Regions from separate parts of the Homo sapiens genome. Here region 1 is linked to region 2. The links are contacts of gene promoters, found by promoter capture Hi-C in human tissues and cell types (Jung and others, 2019). All regions are on one chromosome and are shown on one strand. The core of a region is centred on a gene start or on the middle of the fragment in contact, and the rest is flanking DNA. Distances in the headings are between cores, read along the strand shown.

Region 1 (2,900 bases), core at 369-2,868, 75 kb after region 2:
AGTAATTCCTTTTCCCTCTTCACTCTGTGGTACAGTTCTGAAGAATAACTTCATTTGTTTTGTGAATGTTTGAAATTCACCAGGCAAAAGCCACAGCTAATAGATTGTAGTAACATAGAAATGCCACGTGCCACAGATCCCACCTCCTTGCTCCTGTCCCTGCTCCTGCTAGCTCAACCTTTTCCCTGCACTGCCAGGCATTGTAGTCTACGGGTCAAGCCAGCTTTGAAGCCAAGCACATCTGGCTTCAAATCCTAACTCCATCCCCAACTACTTGTATGACCTGACCCTAAGCAGATAGTTTCTCTCCTTGGATTCTGTCAAGGGGGAAAATACTTCCCTTACAAGGTTGCTGTGAAAATAAAGTGTGATAATACATGAAAAGCACCTTGCACATAGTAGGTGCCTAACACACATCTGTATGCCCTAGCCGCCAGACCCCTGCCAGTTGTTTTTCTTTTCCCCTAGTGGTTCTGTTCATCGGAGTCAAACTGACTTTGCTTTTGTGACTGGCAACTTGATTGGTAAATTCTTCTCCACTGAAACCCGTGGGAGCCTGGACCCCTATGAAGGGCAGGAGGTTATGGTACGGGCCATGTTGGCCTTCCTGCAGAAGCACCTCGGTAAGGAGAAAACTGGGGCTCTTGGGGCAGCTGTGGGGTCCCTTAGATTTCCTTGCAGCAGAGTGAGAACTCTGACATGTCTGGGATCTGGGAAGGAGATTTATGGCAAATGGAAAACCTGAGTGAAGGAGAGACTTACATAGAATTACAGAAAAAACAAGTCCAGGTGCAGTGGCTCACGCCTGTAATCCTAGCACTTTGGTGGGTTGAGGTGGGAGGATGGCTTGGGGCCAGGAGTTCGAGACCAGTCTGAGCAACATAGTGAGACTCTATCTTTACCAAAAAAAAAAAAAAATTAGCTGGGTGTGGTGGCACACACCTATAGTCCCAGCTACTCGAGAGGCTACGGTGGGAGGATCAGTTAAGCCTAGGAGGTCTAGGCTGCAGTGAGCCATGATTGCACCACTGAACTCCAGTCTGAGCAACAGAGCAAGACCTTGTTTCTAAATAAATAATTAAACAAATAAATAAGAAAAAATACTTAACTGAAAGTTTGGAGATCCTGACTATCTTACTTGCAGAATGACCTGGCCTAGTCATTTAACCTCTCTGAACCTTGGTTTCCTCCCTGTAAATGGAGTATTCACCTCTCTCTACTCCACCACCTCTCTCCTTACCCAGACTCATTATTGCCCACCTTATCTGCATTGTAGGGGAGTTTATGAGGATAACGGGCTAAATTTATGGAAGTGTTTTAAAGAAACAAAGCATGGAAGGACTATGAATAATGTCATCAGTCATAGAGCAGCTAAAGGGCGAGGCCTGCAGAGGTCCATGGTCCAGCTTCCACCCAGAGGAGGCATCCTCTTATTAAGCTTTATTGGTTACAAAGACTAGAGGTTCACAAACTTAGCTTGAGAAAAAAAGGGGAGTTTGTTTATGAGAGTGCACCTGGACTGGGTGGGAGTGCAGTTATAGAAATCAGGGTGGCTGGCAGGACTGACTTTTCTTTCCGTCTGTCTCATGGGTTCAGTCTCTCTGTGTCTTCCTCTCACGACATCTCTTTTTCTTTGTTCCGTTATGCATTTTTTTTTCTGCTCTGTGGTTTTTCTCTCACTGATAGCAGCTGTTTATTCCATTTCTGCTTCCTCATAACTTCACTCGGCTTGAACCACTCAGAGTGTGTTCCCTTTAGCTTGCGGCATCCTTTCATCTTCAGCTCCCACTGCTCACTGCCATATTTTTTTGGATTTCTTTGAACAGATTTCCAAGAGAGGCAATTTGATTGTATCAGCTCCTCTTTGCCCACCAGAACACACTGTAGCCCCGTCCCAGCTAGGCTCTGAGCTCTCTGCATCAGAGGTCCCTTTCTGATCCCTCAGCAGGTGCTGTGTGCAGGGCAGTTTCCATGAGAAAGGAGCCAGGCTTGTCTGAATTTCAAAGGTTTGACTTAACTCTAACCTAAGAGCAAGATCTCCTAGTTTGTAACCCTCCTCTACTTGCCCAGGTTAACCCCTCAAGAGCTACCCATAGAAGCCTCAGACGGCACCTGGCAGTTCCCTAGATATTTGAAGTCACCTATGCTAGTCTTCTCTGAGTGTTCTGTTTATTAAACTAAATGTTCGTGGTACCTCCACCTGTCCCGGTTCAATTCCCCATGTTGCTATTTGTTATCCCCTTCCTTTGGAGTCGCTGTTTTTTGGTGCCCCTTCTAAAGTGTAGTGCCCTGGCCGGGTGTGGTAGCTCAACATCTGTAATCCCAGCTACTTTGGGAGGCTGAGATGGGAGGATTGCTTGAGGCCACGGGTTTGAGACCAGCCTGTGCAACATAGTGAGACCCCATCTCAGCAAAAAAATAAATAAAATTAGCCAGGTATGGTGGCATGTGCCTATAGTCCCAGCTACTCGGGAGGCTGGGGTGGAAGGATCACTTGAGCCTGGGAGGTCAAGACTGCAGTGAGCCAAGATCATGCCATTGCACTCCAGCCTGGGCAACAGAGTGATACCGTCTCCAAAAAATAAAATAAATAGATAAACTGTGGTGCCCTGACTTGACTATAATGTATTAGATGTGGTCTGACCGGTGCCATCCTGGACAGTCTCTTCTGTGCTCTGTTTTTTGTTTTGTTTTGTTTTGTTTGAGACGGAGTCTCACTCTGTCTCTCAGGCTGGAGTGCAGTGGTGTGATCTCAGCTCACTGCAACCTCAACCTCCTGGGTTCAAGCGATTCTCCGGCAGTTCTCCTGCCACAGCCTCCCAAGTAGCTGGGACTACAGGCATGTGCCACCACACCCAGCTACTTTTTGTATTTTTAGTAGAGACAGGGTTTCACCATGT
Region 2 (3,049 bases), core at 140-2,639:
GAATCCTGGAAATATTCAGGCTCCACACCCAGAGATTCTGGTTCGGTTGGTCTGATGCAGGGACCTGTAACCTGCGTTGTAACACCTTCTCCAGGTAATGCTGAGCCTGCTGGTGCTCAGAGTAGACAGACCTGGAGAAAACCAGGGTGTCTGAGGTTTTCCAGAAGAAAACCAGAGTCCAGAGAAGCAGAGAGGCACTCAGTGAGGACCCAAGCAGAGCGGGTGCACCTCACATCCTCACTCCTGGCACCCCGTCTCCTACAAGATGAGAGACTGAAAGAGCCCCTTCCTGTCCCCAGTGGTGTGGGCAAGAGGCCTGCACCTCTGACTCTTGGCTCTGTGAAAGGCCATACCCACCAAGCCTATGGTCCTAGCGACAAAGGGTGCTGGGGAGACGAATTGACCAGACAGGGAGGTCTCCAGCAGCTTCTTTCTACACAGAGGGCACCTGTCAGAGGCCAGCGTGGGGGCCACAGGCTCCCCAATCCCCAAGAACCGCCAGGGAAGGAGGCTGCTTCAAGTGGGTGGGGCACCAAGCTGGCCAGGAAGGACAGGGCTTCTCCCAGCGGTACCAACACGGTGGCACCTCCGGCCTGCATCTCCCAGGCTTGCTTGTCAGGCTTCCTGGGGCTCCCAGGAGCCGCTGCGGGGGAGGGGAGAAGGGGTGGCAGCAGTGGCAGTGGTCGTCTCTGCTCCGATGGTGACTGCCGATGACACTGTTCTCTGTGCGGGTGGAGACAAAGCCGGCCACTCCAGATTCTCCTGCGCGCAGGAGAGGAGGAGCTGGCGCTGCTTCAGTGGCGAGGATGGGTCGATCAGTCCCAGCCGGTCCTAGGGAGAGACACTGCCCCAGCCTGAGGGCGGCGCAGCCCACCCCACCCCAGGACCCTCCTAGCAGGAGGACAGGAACGCAAGCCGACCTCGGGGGGTCTCCGGCCTGAGAGGGGAACATGATCAAGCCCAGGGCAGCCGCCAGTCGGAGGGGGCAGACGCGGCCCCAGTAGCCTCTGGAGACCCTCTTCCGAGGCAAGGAGCCACATTCCTGCCGTCGGGACCACCAAAGCGGATTTCTACAAACTAAAGTCGAGAACTTTTCGGCGGCGAGGCGGCGCACCCCGCGCGGGAGAGGGGGCGCAGGCGTCACCCCGTCCTCACTCAGCAACACCCGGCGCCGCGCCGGGCGAAGGCTGGCAAACTTCTCGCGGCCGGCAGGTGGGCTCCGCGGGCCCCATGGGCGCAGGCACAGGTGTGCGGGGCCACAGCCGGGCCTTTTGCAGCCGGCGACCGCCCCCCCTTCCCCGCGGGCTTTTGCACACGACGCGCCGACGGCAGCTTCACACGGGTTGGCGAGGGCCGGATAAAGCCGGCGGCCGCGGGGCGCAGCGGCTGACCCGAGACACGGGAGCGCTTGGCACGCGGAGCCAGAGCCGGAGCTGCAGCCGCAGCGGGAGCCGGGGGAGCTCAGGGGCCGCAGGAGCCGGGCCGGAGTGAGCGCACCTCGCGGGGCCCTCGGGGCAGGTGGGTGAGCGCCACCCGGAGTCCCGCGCGCAACTTTCAGGGCGCACTCGGCGGGGCGGCTGCGCGGCTGCCGGGACTCGGCGCGGGACTGCATGGAGGCCAAGGAGAAGCAGCATCTGTTGGACGCCAGGCCGGCAATCCGGTAAGGCGAGAGCCTGGGGACGGGCGGGAATTTTGGCGGCAGCCGACGCACCTCCGCATTTGCCATCCTAGCAGTGGTTGGTTTTGGCTGCGGCTTGAGCTGGGACCATGCAGGAGGGGTGGGGTGAGGTGAGGGAACGAAGATAATGGGCTGTGGCCCAAGGACCGTCTCTCCCTTGGGGCGCAGCCCAGATTCTGACCCCTGCCCGCGGGGGGCCTGGGGCCGGGGGATTGGCGGTTCCCATGCCTGGAGTCCCGCCCCGCCCAGCACTTTGCCCCAGGCAGCCCCGCCCCGGGGAGGCCCTGTGTCCCAAGTGCGCTGGAGGGGGCCTGCTGTTCTCCCAGAGCCTGCGCTCTGTTCCTTCCCCGCGCTCCACTGGACAGCACGCCCCTTGGCCGGTTCCCAGGGTCTTCACCTCCTCTGGCCTCTGAAGGGCCCCGGGCCCCAGGACTCCCATTCCCCTATCATCCCCGTCTGAATACAGGCTTCTCACCTCTGGTTTGTCGAGCTCGGAGCGTCCTTAGCTATTTTTCCCAGTGGACACAAGGCCTCACAGAGAAATGGGACTAGAGTCGGCCCTCCTTACCTCATCTCAGAGCTGAGCGTTCCCTCTCTTCCCCTCTGGCCAGGTCATACACGGGATCTCTGTGGCAGGAAGGGGCTGGCTGGATTCCTCTGCCCCGACCTGGCCTGGACTTGCAGGCCATTGAGCTGGCTGCCCAGAGCAACCATCACTGCCATGCTCAGAAGGGTCCTGACAGTCACTGTGACCCCAAGAAGGGGAAGGCCCAGCGCCAGCTGTATGTAGCCTCTGCCATCTGCCTGTTGTTCATGATCGGAGAAGTCGTTGGTAAGCACTTTTGGGCTAATTAAATGAAGTTGGTGCATGGATAGACTGGATGTTCCCAGCAATACTGACACTAAAAGCCCCAATTACTGAACACACACTACAGTAAGCCTTTATATACACATTATCTGATGCAGGTCTAACAACAACCTGTGTTCTCACATGGGTGACGTTATTCTCCTTACTTTACAGATGATGAAACTGAGGCATGTTCAGGTGAAGTAACTTGCCAAAGATCACGCACAACTCGTAGCTAAGGGAAGGCCTGAATTCCTAGAAGGGAAGAGCATTTACTGAGTATCTGCTATGTTTTCCAGTCCCTATTTGAACTTGATGTGCACATTCACCCTCTAAGTAGATATTGGTGGCCCATTTCACAGAGAGTGGAAGTTGAGGCTCAGAGAGAGTAGGTCACTTGTCACGGTGGTACAGCTCATGGGTAGAGAGATCTTGAGCCCAGAATGTCCTCTTCCAGAGCCTGTGGTCTCCCTGCTGCACACACAGTCTTGGGAGCCAGCTCTCTGGGGGAGCTGATAAGGACC

What was found. Contacts are between HindIII fragments. The study calls those that stand out against the background at their distance.
Region 1: a fragment that was not itself captured here is called in contact with the fragment with the promoter of SLC30A2 in region 2 in 2 of the 25 tissues and cell types used here (IMR-90 fibroblasts and spleen).

Annotation. Positions count from the first base shown.
Region 1 is chr1:25,970,281-25,973,180 of GRCh38, reverse strand. It overlaps PAFAH2 (platelet activating factor acetylhydrolase 2), which reads left to right. Exons shown (of 11, transcript NM_000437.4): 10 at 469-623. Among named protein-coding and RNA genes, the nearest start is that of PAFAH2, 26 kb to the left of the region's middle. The HindIII fragment of the contact is 4,625 bases long and covers 1-2,900 here.
Region 2 is chr1:26,044,458-26,047,506 of GRCh38, reverse strand. It overlaps SLC30A2 (solute carrier family 30 member 2), which reads left to right and starts at 1,389. Exons shown (of 8, transcript NM_001004434.3): 1 at 1,389-1,660; 2 at 2,290-2,510. The coding sequence starts at 1,611. RefSeq lists an enhancer at 1,790-2,358. The HindIII fragment of the contact is 12,838 bases long and covers 1-3,049 here.